Linked DNA regions of Homo sapiens: regions 2, 3 and 4 are each linked to region 1. Evidence: promoter capture Hi-C in human tissues and cell types (Jung and others, 2019). All regions are on one chromosome and are shown on one strand. The core of a region is centred on a gene start or on the middle of the fragment in contact, and the rest is flanking DNA. Distances in the headings are between cores, read along the strand shown. Region 1 holds the start of CCDC126 (coiled-coil domain containing 126). Region 2 overlaps LOC124901820 (translation initiation factor IF-2-like). Region 3 overlaps GSDME (gasdermin E). Region 4 overlaps GSDME (gasdermin E).

Region 1 (3,420 bases), core at 772-3,271:
CCACATGTCCCCACCTCCCCTTCCAAAGCCAACTAGGCTAGCATCTCTGGCCTCAAACAAAGAGGCCCCAGGGAAAACCAGGCAGTTGGCAGAAGGAGCTGAAGGAGAAGTCATGAAAATAAATAATAAAGTTGGATGAGGGGATTGACAAGCTAAAGTTATGAAGAATCAGGCACAACAGGTATAGGGGCTATGAGCAAAAGATACAGAGTAGGGAGAAAGAGAACAAAGCATGTCAAAAATGCAGAGAAACTGTGCAGCTCATGAGAGAGTGATAACTGGCTGGTAGAGATTCTTATTTCTGGCAGCTTTCTTGTTCTCTTAAATGTATTCCTTCTTTCAAGGTAGTTTGAAAGAATTATATGACCTGAAGCAGGAAGAAACACTAAGAACACAAATGACTAAAAGGGTTTACACAAATTTTGTTTCCACATTTAAAAAAAAACCTCTAAAAACCTTTATCATTGAAAGTCTGAGCTAGAAGAGTCCTTGGAATCAGACCAATTCACTATTTTAGAGATGAGGACATTGAGGACCACAAAGTAATCTCAGGTTACACAGATAGTGACAGAGCAAGGACAAAACTAAGGACTCCTATTTCCGTAGCCATTACTCTCTGTCCTACACTGCACTAAATAACACCAACATAGAAACATTTTCCTCAAAACAAGTATTTTTGCAACACATTTTAGAGTGAGAAATTATTAATCAGTGAGAAGATGCAGACAGATGTAGAAAAAAGTTGACCCAGGTTAAATATGGTGAAGCCCAGAGGCAGGACTGTAAAATACCTGGATGCCTACTCTGACGAAACAAACACTTAGCGCCTCTAAGGATTCCCAAAGGACACACCTGAGGGGGAGGGGAGAGGTGAATACTTGTACCTCTGAAGCTGATCCACAGAAAAGCAGAGTCATCAATTTCCTAAGAACATTCTCAGCCATCTTAAAACAGCAAAAATTAGGAAGACGGCATATTTTAATGAATCCTTTGGTTAGGTTTAAGATAAAGTGAAGAACACACAACCCAGGATGATTAAACAAACAAAAGCACAAAACTCAAGTCCAGAGGCCACTTCGGTCACTTCAGTCATAGCTAATGAAAGTATCACAAAGGATCTTTTCATCAAATGAAGAACTAATGACGTTATAGGTCTATATTCCTAATTCTAACCACTTACAGGTGTGTGTTTTGATGGATGAGAAAACTCAAGCTTAGAGCCTTTAAGTAACCAAGATCACCAAGGCAGGCAGTGAGAGAAACCCAGGCAGGATTCGAACCCTAGCTGGCTGAGCCATTCTCATTACCGTCACAGTCAACAATCAACACGGCAGTTTAAGTTCATCCTTACCAGTCACCCAGGAGATGAGTTTTGAAGAGGGAGTTTAAAAGGGGCATCTGACTTTCTCTCTCTCCCAAAGTAGAAGAGAACTGAGCTGTCAAAAACAGAAAAAGAAGTGAGTGCGGTGCCGCCCGGGATCTACATCCCGCAGCTCCGGACCAAGCCCGCCCCGCTCGACTCGCGCAGCCCCAGCCACGCTCGGCTCTCCGCCCGAGCCGAGGCGCCGCGGCTGTCAGACGCGGAGGGGCAGAGACGCGGCCCAAAGGAAGGGACAAAGAGCCTTCCCGGCCGCGGCCGGAGGCTGCCGGCCCGTTCCTAAGCCGGGTTTCCGCAGCAGCGGCCCTAGCGGGGCGGGGACCGGGGACGGGGGCGCGGCGGGGGAGGAGCGGCCGGCTAGGCTGAGGGGCGCGCGAGAGGTGCGGGCCCGGCTGGCGGACTCGCCCCTTACTCATTACCTGGCCGTGGGCTTCTCGTCACGGTCGCCGCCGCCACGGAGCTTCTGAGCCGGGGCGACGCAGCGAGAGCTAATAAGCGGGCGTCAGCTGCGTCCCACACTGGCGAAGCAGCCTCCAGATCGAGCTGGAGAAACGCCGGTGGGTGGGAGTTGGGACGAGGTTTGTTCCCAGCTTGTGGAGATTTTACTCCGCTCGTCCCTCGCACTCGGCTTCCGCTCCGCCTCCCTGCCGGCCCTTCCCGCACTCGGGGGCCAGCCGCCCGCGGCGCGCGGCATTGTGGGGGATGTAGTCCCAGAATGAGGAAGCGGCGGCACGTGCTTCCAGCCGCCCTGCACCTACCCTGGGTCAGAACGACGCAGCTGCGCGGCAACCAGAGAGGGCGGCGGGGTCTTCTGTGTTGGAAGATGAGCCCGCCAGAGGCATACCCTCGGCCTTAACTCGCTGCAGGCGCTGGAAGAAGGGCTCTGGCGTCTTGTTCCCGACCCTCCGGTGAGGAACCAACCTCCTAATACTATTGACCTGAGGCTGGGAAAGCTTAGTGATGATTAAGTGTGCTACAGATGAGACTACCCATTATTGAAGCCAAAGGTCCTTAGCCAGTGGAGTGAGGCAAGAAAAATAAAAGGATTGAAGATTAAATAGGAAGAAACAAAATTATTTTTTCATAGATTATGTAATTATGTACGTGGAGGCCGGGCGCCGTTGGCTCATGCCTGTAATCCCAGCAGTTTGTGAGGCCAAGACGGGAGGATCACCTGAGGTCGGGAATTCGAGACCAGCCTGGCCAACATGGTGAAACCCCGTCTCTACTACAGATACGAACTTAGCAGGGCGAGGTGGCGGACGCCTGTAATTCCAGCCTCTCGGGGAGCTGAGGCGGGAGAATTGCTTGAACCCAGGAGGCGGAGGTTGCAGTGAGCTGATATCGCGCCACTGCACTCCAGCCTGGGCAACAAGAGCAGAACTCCGTCTCAAAAAAAAAAAAAAATTGTTTGTGGCACTTCAAAACAATCTGCAGATAAACTGTTAACAATAAAAGTTTTTAACAAGGTTAATAGATACAAAAATCATATTTTAAAAAATCAATATTTATTTATATATGCTAGTAAAAAAGATAATTTTTTTAAAGATACCATTTCCAACAGCTCCAAACAAATATCAAGTACCTAGGAATAAATCGATCAAAGAAATGCAAAACCTGCCTGAAGAAAACATTGGAAGACACTGAAGAAGACCTAAATAAAGATGTAACATGTTCATAAATTGGAAGAGTCAATACTGAAAAATGCCAAGTCTCTCCAAACCTACCTACAGAGCCAGTGCAATTCCCAACAAAATCTCAATAAATTTCTGTGTATGTGTGAGAAACTTGACAAGCTAATTCAAAATGTTATGGAAGAGCAAAGACAAGCATTCATGAGGAAGAGGAGGAAGAAAAAAAAAGAAGAGGAGAAGGAGTGGGAGGAGGAAAACTTGTGCTACCGGATAACAAGCTTTATTATAGACTAGGCACGGTGGCCCATGCCTATGATCTCAGCACTTCGGGAGGCTGAGGCAAGTGGATTGCTTGAGCCTGGAGTTCAAGACCAGCCTGGGCAACATGGCAAAACCCCATCTGTACCC
Region 2 (3,420 bases), core at 523-3,022, 1.2 Mb before region 1:
ACCAAATCTCTCTGTGAAACTAAAGAAGAGAAAAGAAATTTGTGCTAGTTTTGCTATCTCACCTCGAACTGCAAATGTTATGGCCGCTATGTGATGTAAGTGCTTGCTTAAGATGAAAAAGGCATTGAATTTGTGGTGGAAGACATGAGCAGAAACGTGTTCCAGTTGATCCTGGCTGGGTTTGGTGCCATCCTCCATTTCAGGCATCCACTGGGAGTGTTGGAATGCATCCTGTACCCGAAAGTGCCGCTCCCATAAAAATCTCCCATGAGGGAGTCTCCGGGTTCTTTCCTTATCTATCTGCCCGAGGTGTCCATGCTCAGGGCAACCTCAACAACCTGGAGCTGAGCCTCCCCCAGCCTGATTCCTGAAGGAATGAGGACTGTGGTTCTTCCTCCCCACCCACCCCACCCAAAACCTAGAAGTACCTTAGTCAGACTGTTTACCGAGTAGGAAATAAGCTACTATTGTATTTGAGCCATTATAATTTGGGACTTCATTTTAGCAGTTAGCTTACCCTAACAAGGACAGCTGATCATTGTACTTCTCATCCTCTATCCTTATTGTTTATCTGTCTGCCTTTCCCGCTATACTACAAAGCCCACAGACCTGGAGGGCATGAAGCACATTCTCGTTGGTCACCTTATATCCTCAGTACCTAATATGGCACCCAGCACCTAGTAGGTCACTAATAAATATTTGTTAAAAAGATGTTAGGTGCATGGGCTTTACTTCTCTATGCTGGGTATAGCTCACCTGGATACTGGACAATATTTAAAAATAACGATAATCAGATGAAAAAAGTTTGTATATCTCTGGATCATATTATTTTGAATATTTCTGTAAATTGGACATCTGGTGGCTGACTACTGGTATTCATCACAAATTTCCTTAATGCTGATAATAACGTATGTTTCTCCATGAACAATGGACAAACAATACAGAAGTTTTTACTAACTTTGTTTATGTAATGCCACTTTCTTTTATGGCTTTTTTTTTTTTTTTGACACACAGTTTCTGTCACCCAGGCTGGAGTACAGTGGCACGATCACAGCTCACTGCACCCTCAACTTCCCAGGCTCAGGTGATTCTCCTGCATCAGCCTCCCGAGTAGCTGGGACTACAGGTATGCACCATCACACTGGCTAATTTTTTGCATTTTTAGTACAGATGGGGTTTCACCATGTTGGCCAGGCTGCTCTCTAACTCCTGGGCTCAACTGATCTACCCACCTCAGCCTCTCAAAGTGTTGGGAATACAGACAGAAGCCACTGCGCCTATCCTGTAATGCCACTTTCTTTCATGAAAACAAGGGCGGCAGATAGAAGATGTCTGGAAATTCTTTGCTGTTTCTCCCATTGAGAGGTAGAATATACCACCCCTATCTTTGAATCTAGGCTTGTTGTGGAAATTACGTTCTGGGTGTTTAGAGATTATGTCATAAGACTTCTAGCTTCTGCCTTGTTTCTTTTTCTTGAACATTTGCTTTTGGAGCCCTGAGCCTCCACTATAAGAAGTCTGACTTCCCAAAAACCACCATGATGAAGAGGCCACATGTAGGGCTCTGGTTGATAACCCTCAAGTTCAGTCCCACCCTCAAGGCATCCCTGCCAGTGCACTAGACATGAGATGCTATGGTCTGAATGTTTGTGTTCCCCCAAAGCCATATGTTGAAACTTAATCACCAATGTGATAGTTTCAGGAGGTGGGGCCTTTGGGATGTGATTAGGTCATGAGGTGGAACCCTCATCAATGGGATTAGTGCCCTTATAAGAGACTTAGGGACTTGTTTTGTTTGTTCTTCCCTTCCACCAGGTGTGGACACATTGAGAAGTCACTATCTATGAACTAGGAAGCAGGATCTCACCAGACATCGAATCTGCTGATGCCTTCATCTTGGACTTCTCTCTCAGCCTCCAGAACTGTGAGAAATAAAGTCCTGTTGTTTATAAGCCACTCAGTCTATGGTATTTTATTACAGCAAACCGAATGGGCAAAGACATGGGTGAAGTTATCCAGGACCCTCCAAACCAGGCCATTCACCTTCACCAGCTAAATTCCACTGAGTGACCCCAGTCAGTGCACATGGAACAGAAGAGTCACTCAGCTGAGCCCTGCTCAAAGCCCTAACCTACAAAATTGTGAGATATAGTAAAGTGGTTGTTGTTTCAAGCCACTAAGTTTTGGGGTAGTTTGTTATACAGCAGTTGATAATTGGGACAGCAAATTATTTCACATTTCCTTGTTTGTCCAATAATATTTGCATTGAGACTTTTGATTTTGACAATATTGGTTGATCATTTGCTAGCTGCCAAGTAATTTCAGTTCTTCTCCTATCTGTATCCGTGCCTTGCAATTGAATAAGAGAAGGTTGGGACACCAAGAGAAACAGATTTAATTCTGGACCATATTTAACCCTCTATAAAGCTTTTTATTTTAAAGCAGTAATTAGTAATATGCATTGGCAATACAGTCTCCAGTTTAAAAAGCACTTTTGGGATTTAGGGAGGTAAATGAAATCAGTTTTAAAATATATATCAATGTATGCCAAATTTTATTTTAATTTATGTTAGTAGCTATGTTCCTCTGGGAAGCAATCAATATGGTAAAAGGCAAAATTATGCATATGTGAAAAATGTAGTCTTAATTTAAAGGCAACTTTAGCTGAAAAGTAATTAATAAAGGCAAGGAAACTAATTTTTATTGAGTGCTACTATGGGCTGAGTACTTTATATAATCTCATGACAATGTTATAAGTAATTTTTAAATGGGAAGTTATACAATTTGCCTAAAGTCACTCAGCTGGTAAGTGGTAGGCTGGATTCTACCCAAATCTGATGGATCCAAAGTCTGTTTTTCTCTCCTTTGCAGAGGTTATTAATCTGAAAGCGTCCAGGTCTCCAAATGTGGTTCTCAAGGAACTAGGAAGCAATTATGGCAGCCATGCAGAGCTGGTTTATTGGTGTATTCATTTACGAAATAAATCCCGGTAATGAGTTTTATTGACTTTTGCTGCCCTTTGCGTATTTTTCCTTAGCAAGAATCTAGGCATAGGGTAGGAAATACACGACACCCAATAGATGTGTTTCAGAAGTTCTGTAAGTTGAAACATAGTTTATATAACGAATCTTTTTGAAAGCAGATGCTGCTTACCATCATCATTAGGACCACTCCAATTGATCTCCTGTGAGATTTTCTTTCCATAGCCCTCCATTTCCTCAAAGGGGATATATCTATATGGAATAAGAAGATTGGAGTTCCACGTTTTCTTTTTATTTACTTTTTTCCAATTGGGCTAAAAGTTTCCATGTTGTATATGTTCATCTGAAATCTTCAAATAGTCTATTTAACAATAATAATAAGCACAATTATTTTTTTAAAAAAGTTATGGCTGTGCCAGAACCTTTTCATCCCCCCACC
Region 3 (3,420 bases), core at 451-2,950, 1.1 Mb before region 1:
GCAGTGAGCATTCTGCCCCAATTTTGATTTTCCCAGCATTTTACAATCCTGAAGTCATCTACATTACAGCCAAGTGACAGAGAGAGAAAGAGCAGGGCTTATCTCACTGTGTTGGAAGTGGAGGCCCAGGGCACAGGAGTTGAGGTTTCTAGAGATTTCCTGCCCCCGGCTGTGGGCTGAGCATCTCTGATGTGTGGGAAGTTTCTGTTATGAAACGTGGTTGAAATGGGGACTGCTAGTACCTGCGGGGGAGACAGTGGGCGGCTGCTTTCGTTTCCAAGAGGATCCACTTCCTGACTCTGGGAAGCTCTCATGGGATGGAGCAGAAAGACTGCCAGTTCTTTAACAATCAAGCATGCATTAAGCGCCTTCTGTATGCAGGGCCCAGGAAGGTTCAGGAGGGAGAGGCAGATGGGCGCAGAGCTTCGAGGGTGGATGGTGCTGAGCTGCATTCTCACCCAGCCCCTTGGCTTCTGAGTTCTTCGTGCTTCTTGTTGCTTTCTGAAATAAGGATGATGGTCACTTCATATACCAGTTAGGGTGTCTGGTTGCAAAGAACATTTGTTATTATCTCACATAAGAAAACATCTCGAAGAGGGTGCGTCCCGGTTGACTGAATGGTTAACGGCAGAAGGTCAGTTCGGTGGCTCTGTGGGCCCCTGTGGCAGCCGCCATCTGTCCTGGCAGCTCAAGTTCTCTTGGTCCCTAAATGGCAGCCACATTGCAGACAAAAGGTCCAGAGGCAGAAAAGTGGCCTCTTCTTTGTGTCCCTTTTTAAGAGGGAGAAAAACTTGAGAACCCCTAACAGATTTTCCTCAGGTCTCATTGGCCAGAATTGCCCCCGATTCCTGATAAGAAAAACGGAGTGACCAAGAATGGCCGAGAGACAAATCAAGACTCATTGGCAGGGCTGGGTGCACCCTGTCTCTTCCTCCCGTTACAGCCCCCCTAGCTCCCGAACAGTGCTGGGGACGGCAGCTAGTGGCACCCCCGACTCGTAGTGTGGGAGGGTTTTGCAGCCTTCCCGGTACAGGATGCTGGGGACAGTTCCTGCAGAAGCAGCACAGATGTGGTTTGAGCGCTGCTCTCCTGCCTTCGTTGTCAAAAAGCTTACAGTCTTTGAAAAGGGTGAATGGAGCCTCCCTTGGAGGGGAAATCGGCAGATGAAGGAGGCAATGGTGTGTGTGTTCCAGGATTTTAGGGGGGCAGTTACTGAAATAAAACTCTGCCATCTCTGTAGACTGGAGGAGGTTGGTTATCAAGAGAGAAGCAGACTTTCCCACTTAATGAAATGTCACAAAGGCAAAGCCAAGGAGTTTACAGGCAATGTCTGTGGACCTAATTTTCCTACTCTACAGCTGGTGTGTGAACACACGTGTGATCCTTTGTAAACTGTAGTTTTAGCCAATAAATCAAAACCCTTGGGAGAAGTTCTGGATTTACTAAAGCCTTTATCATCAATACATATCTCTGTTTCTGTGGGTTAGTAATTCTTGCTTAATATTCCTTGAGCAGCAGGCTGGCCACCACCTTTTGGCTCTCTGTCATGTCCCCATCTCTGTTTCTGGGGAGATGTTGAAACCAGCTCTGGCAGTACTGCACCATTTCCTCAGTCTGCATTTGTACCTTTCACTTTTTGTTGTTCTTTAGAAGAGTGTAGTGGAAAAGCACACTGGTCTCAGAGTCAGAAGATGCAGTTCCTGATTTTGGCACTGCCACTAACAGGCCATGTGGTTCAGGTGGGCCTGTCACCTCTCTGGGGCACATTCTTCACTAATGAGCAGAGACACTGGGTTAGATCTAGGTGATCAGGGCCATCCCCCTCCCATGTCCAAGCAGACACTGCCACTTAATCACAGCTTTCTTCCTCCTTACTGTCTTCCAGCCCACACTCAGCCTTAGAATCCTTTTCCTACAGCCAGGCAGTAATAGCTGATGGATTAATCAAGGTGAAAATAAAGATGAACCTGAGTTTCTGCCCAGAGCTAGATAATCCCCTTGGGTCCCTTCTAGTTTTATAATTTCTCCACAGCAGACTCAACAAAAGCTCCTGCTCTGTCATGATGTCCCCTGGGGTTTGGAGAGCCTTACCAGGCTCCCCAGGGTTTCCATTGGAAACTCTTCCTCGAGGCCATTGGTTTTTTTTTTTTTTTTTTGAGACGGAGTCTCGCTCTGTCCCCCGGGCTGGAGTGCAGTGGGCGATCTCGGCTCACTGCAAGTTCCACCTCCCGGGTTAACGCCATTCTTCTGCCTCAGCCTCCCGAGTAGCCAGGACTATGCCGGGCTGATTTTTTGTATTTTTAGTAGAGACGGGGTTTCACCATATTAACCAGGATGGTCTCGATCTCCTGACCTCGTGATCCGCCCGCCTCGGCCTCCCAAAGTGCTGGGATAACAGGCGTGAGCCACCGCGCCCGGCCTACCATTGTTACTATCAAGGGTTTTTGTGTAAGAGGACCCTGCTAGTGGTGGCTGCCTTGGCCTCTTCCCTGAGAAACTTGCATCTGGCCTGGTGCCTGGAGCATAGCAGAACTCAGGTATTTGTGGAGATGAATGAAGGAGAGTTGAAGTGTGGGGTCTGCATGACAAAGCTCGCCCTCCTGTGTCTCTGCAGGAGGCATCCCCGGGACCTCCTTTATGCTTTGGTAAAGAAACCTGCTTCCCTCCTTTTGGATATTGTCAGACTTTTAAAAGTTGTCTCTGGGTTTCTCCTCTGTGAGTTTGCATTTTGGCTCTTGAAAGTCTTAGAAGCAGAGAAAATGGAAATTAAAGCTTCAGGCTGGGAGAGGAGGCGGCTTCATTAGGGCTGGGCCTGGGGAGCTGATGGATGCTGGAAGAGCTGGAGCCTCCCTTCCTGCTGGGCTGCTCTGGTCCCCAGCAACCACGCTGGGCTCTGAGCCACGCTTCCCTCCCTCCATCTCTGCCTGCCGCCTCCCAGCAGCTCCTGCCTGGTCTCCTTTTCCAGCCATCTCTCGTCCTGTATCATGTAGCTGCTGTCTTGAATGTATCCGCGTCTTGTATCCAACTCCTGTCCTGTGTCCATGGAGCCATGCTCTTAATTGCTTTGAGGGTCCACTTCCTTAAGGGAGGGGACCACCCCTCATATTGTCTTATGCCCAATTTCTGCCTCCAAAGAAAGAAAAAGTAAAAACTAAAAGGCAGAAATGAAATCCACAAGCAGACAGCCCGGCGTCACACCCTGGGCCTGGTCGTTAAAGATTGACCCCTGACCTAATCAGTTATGTTATCTATACATTACAGACACTGTATAGAAAAGCACTGTGAAAATCCCCATCCTATTTTGTTCCAATCTGATTAGCAGAGCATGCAGCCCCCAGTCACGTACCCACTGCTTGCTCAATCGATCACGACCCTCTCATGCGCACCCCCTTAGAGTTGTGAGCCCTTAAACGGGACAGG
Region 4 (3,420 bases), core at 328-2,827, 1.1 Mb before region 1:
GGGGCAGACTGCCTAGACAGGACCCTGACATTTGGTATACATCTACTCTGGGAACACCGAGTAATGTGGTTGGTGCCTTTGTGCATAGCAAAGACATTAGAAGACTATGCAGCATGGCATCATTCCAAGGAGCAGATCAGGTATCACAACTGAAAGATTCCACAGGCCCAGAGGAACATGCATGCTTGTCCACTGACTGCAAAAATGGAACTACTTGAAAATGTGCCAGCATGTGTGTCCTGGGCCAGCTGAGGGTAAAGGCTGGTGGCACAGTCTGGTTATGGAAACAATACGTGCCATTATTCTAATTGTATGCAATGATGAGCAAAACAACAGCTCTGCTTTCAGATCTCAGCTCCTCTTGCAGCAACTGAGTGCTCAGCATTTACTAAGTTAGTCCTTCCCAAGTATTTACAGATTCATCAACTGCAACTGAAGCAAATAAAAAGAAAATCCTGCCAAGCCCATGTTATCTAACTGTTATCTAACCCCTTCTGTGACAAACTCACACTTAGCTGTCCTCCTCCCTGCAGATCAGCTCTAGGACATTTGTATTACCCCCAAGTTCTGCTCTGTTGGTGTTCTAAGAGCAGCAGCCAGAACACATTCGGAGTTCAGAATGGAAGGTATTCTGCTTCTGCACATTCTGCCTTTTGGCACTGCTCAACATAGTCAAAGACCTCCTTTTTCTGTAAAGACCTTCCTGGGTATCTTCACATACCTCCCCTCAGATTTGCAATAGCTCTATTTAAGACATCGAGGTGTCTGCCTCCTGAAGGAATTTGAGCGTCATGTTTCTTTAAGGGATTTACTTAAAACGGCACAAAATCCATCTGCAGCCCTGTCTTTTCTTGTCTAGTAGCCAGGGTAACTTTGAGAGGCTTTCTGAAGGGCTTTTGGGAGTACAGTGCCAGATACACTAACACATTTCCAAGAACTGGTGAAAGGGTGAGTTAGAATCAGTAGAGAATGTTAACTTCACTCCACCACCCTCTGGGTCACCGTTTCCCCCTTATACCTAGAAATGCCTGTGGGCAAAGGGGGTGGTGGATATTTAGAAAAGAAAGCCGAATGCTGCACAGCTCTCATCCACCAGGTGGTAAGGACAGGGAGCCTGCCATGCTGTTGACAGTCTCCAGCCTGCGCCAGTGGGGCTCCTCCTTAATTCACTGGGGTGTGATGCTGTGCTTAAAGAGCAGGTCTAATCTACTCTCTAAAGCACAATCAATAGTTTGCAGTCTGAGCCTAATGGTAACGTTAAGCCTGTGGTTACATTGTGTGAGTTGTATTTGGCGAATCTACAAGGTTCGTGAGGCTGATTTTGATAATAAACCCACAAGTACTTTTACATTCCAGTGAGTGCTACCCTTCAGTCTACCTGGACAAGCTGCATGACTTTCAAGATAGTCACCACTGCTCAGGAAATTTCTGGAATTTTTTCTTTTGGATTCCCTTCAGATTTCTTAAAATTCAGGCAAACTTTCTAGGCTTATTTCATTTTTAATTTAATTTAAAATTTTACTACTTACATTATTAATCAGATCTTGAATGCCTGTTTCAAAATGAAATCTACTGGTAAATTTGTAATTGCTTAAGATTTGTAAAATATTACGGGTACAGATCAAGACCCTAAAAGCAAATCAAATATTTCAAGTATGTGTTGAGCAGTGGAATTAGAGCAGCATCCAAAGTGACCTCGGTGAAGAACACATTGAGTGTCTGTGTTGTAGGCACGGCAGACAAGGTCCCTGCTCTCACGAGCAGCTTAGGGTTAAATAAGGGAAGGTGACTAAACACTATCAAGCAGATTACTTCAGATATAGTAAGTTTATGGATACAACATAATGGAGTAACATAAGGCTGAGTTCTGGGGCTGGGGGTAGCTAGATGGAAAGGGATTGGGAAAGGCCCTCAATGTGGCATTTCAGCTGACAACTGAGTGATGAGAAGGGGAGATCAACAGGGAAATTTGGAAGAAGGAATAACAAGGGAAAAGGTTCTTGAGGCAGGAAGGATAATTAAACTAAACTATGGTACCTACCTTTGAGGAGTTCATGCAAAGATATAAGAAAGTTCTAATATCTTCAGTAAAACAAAAACTAAGCATACTGCATATATGACCAAAGTACATTCTAACCTTTCTAATGTACTGGAGTTAATGGGACTAGTAGAAAGAGTTTGGAGAGTAGGGATTCAGACAGAGGACACTAGACAAATTGGATAGAATCAGGCCTGAGGTCCTGGCCTGGATCAAATATATCATGTTACACCTCAAGGGTTTTCCTGCTCTATTTGGGGAAATTTAAAAAACGACATAGTTGGCCAGGCGTGGTGGCTCATGTCTGTAATCACAGCACTTTGGGAGGCCGAGGTGGGCAGATCACCTGAGGTCAGGAATTTGAGACCAGCCTGGCCAACACGGTGAAACCCCATCTCTACTAAAAATACAAAAATTAGCTGGGCATGGTGGCGCACACCTGTACCAGCTACTCGGGAGGCTGAGGCAAAAGAATCGCTTGAACCTGGGAGCTGGAGGTTGCAGTGAGCCGAGATCACGCCACTGCACTCCAGCCTGGACGACAGAGCAAGACTCCATCTCAAAAAGTTTTTTCCCCCAGAATTACCTACAAGTGCATTACTATCCAATGTGGATTTTTTAGGACATTTTAAAAGTGAATTTGTTTAAATGTGTCATTTCAGCTTCGTGCTCTGTCTGATGATGGAGTATCTGATCTTGAAGACCCAACCTTGACTCCCCTGAAAGATACAGAAAGGTTTGGGATTGTGCAGCGCTTGTTTGCCTCAGCTGACATTAGTCTGGAGAGACTGAAGTCATCTGTGAAAGCTGTCATTCTGAAGGACTCTAAAGTCTTCCCACTGCTTCTTTGTATAACCCTGAATGGACTCTGTGCTTTAGGCAGAGAACATTCATGATGTCATATGTGAACTAGAAGTACGTGTTACTGGCCAAGGCTATTTTTCAGAACTGTTAAAGGTCATATGCACGTTAAAAGTTGACCAATGAAATGAATTTACAGAACAGTTTAAGAAGTGGTGACATTTTGCATGATGAATGACCTGACTTTTAGCCACCAGGTACTCTTTAAACAGTTTTCCTTATCAGAGGCCCTCCTGTGCTGGTGACCCAGCATCTGAGTTAGGTTCCAGCATGTAAAGAGCTGGGAGGGCGGAGAATTCTTAGCATACATTCAGACGTTTTTTCTGCACAATAATAAGTCCATCTGTCACTTGCATTCCACTTTTTGTTACATAGAAAGAGTCTGACCCTTTAATCCAAAAGGTCTTTTTACATTGTGAATGCTGTGGGAAGGCAATTTCTCTGCACACAAGAGGCTACGTTTTGGAAGTGATGTATGTTATTTGATGACTGAAAATGAACTGTAAATGCTCCTAGAGTAT

The links. The method cuts DNA at HindIII sites, captures the fragments that hold promoters and counts their contacts. A contact is called where the count stands out against the background at its distance.
Region 2: a fragment that was not itself captured here is called in contact with the fragment with the promoter of CCDC126 in region 1 in 1 of the 25 tissues and cell types used here (lymphoblastoid cells).
Region 3: a contact is called between a fragment that was not itself captured here and the fragment with the promoter of CCDC126 in region 1, in 1 of the 25 tissues and cell types used here (mesenchymal stem cells).
Region 4: a fragment that was not itself captured here is called in contact with the fragment with the promoter of CCDC126 in region 1 in 1 of the 25 tissues and cell types used here (dorsolateral prefrontal cortex).

Annotation. Positions count from the first base shown.
Region 1 is chr7:23,595,983-23,599,402 of GRCh38, reverse strand. It overlaps CCDC126 (coiled-coil domain containing 126), which reads right to left and starts at 2,021. Exons shown (of 4, transcript NM_138771.4): 1 at 1,798-2,021; 2 at 1,352-1,436. LOC105375187 (a long non-coding RNA gene) reads left to right here and starts at 2,078. Exons shown (of 2, transcript XR_927098.2): 1 at 2,078-2,286. RefSeq lists a silencer at 1,540-1,779. The HindIII fragment of the contact is 2,823 bases long and covers 1-2,811 here.
Region 2 is chr7:24,759,835-24,763,254 of GRCh38, reverse strand. The region is part of intron 1 of LOC124901820 (translation initiation factor IF-2-like); the gene reads left to right. It also overlaps a transcript of GSDME not described here. Among named protein-coding and RNA genes, the nearest start is that of GSDME, 4.1 kb to the right of the region's middle. The HindIII fragment of the contact is 6,376 bases long and covers 1-3,420 here.
Region 3 is chr7:24,725,542-24,728,961 of GRCh38, reverse strand. The region is part of intron 3 of GSDME (gasdermin E); the gene reads left to right. Among named protein-coding and RNA genes, the nearest start is that of GSDME, 30 kb to the left of the region's middle. RefSeq lists enhancers at 325-434, 1,305-1,524, 1,845-2,526, 2,527-3,210. The HindIII fragment of the contact is 4,307 bases long and covers 1-3,420 here.
Region 4 is chr7:24,698,540-24,701,959 of GRCh38, reverse strand. GSDME (gasdermin E) reads left to right here. Exons shown (of 10, transcript NM_001127453.2): 10 at 2,701-3,420. The coding sequence ends at 2,934. Among named protein-coding and RNA genes, the nearest start is that of GSDME, 57 kb to the left of the region's middle. RefSeq lists a silencer at 1-170. The HindIII fragment of the contact is 4,995 bases long and covers 1-3,420 here.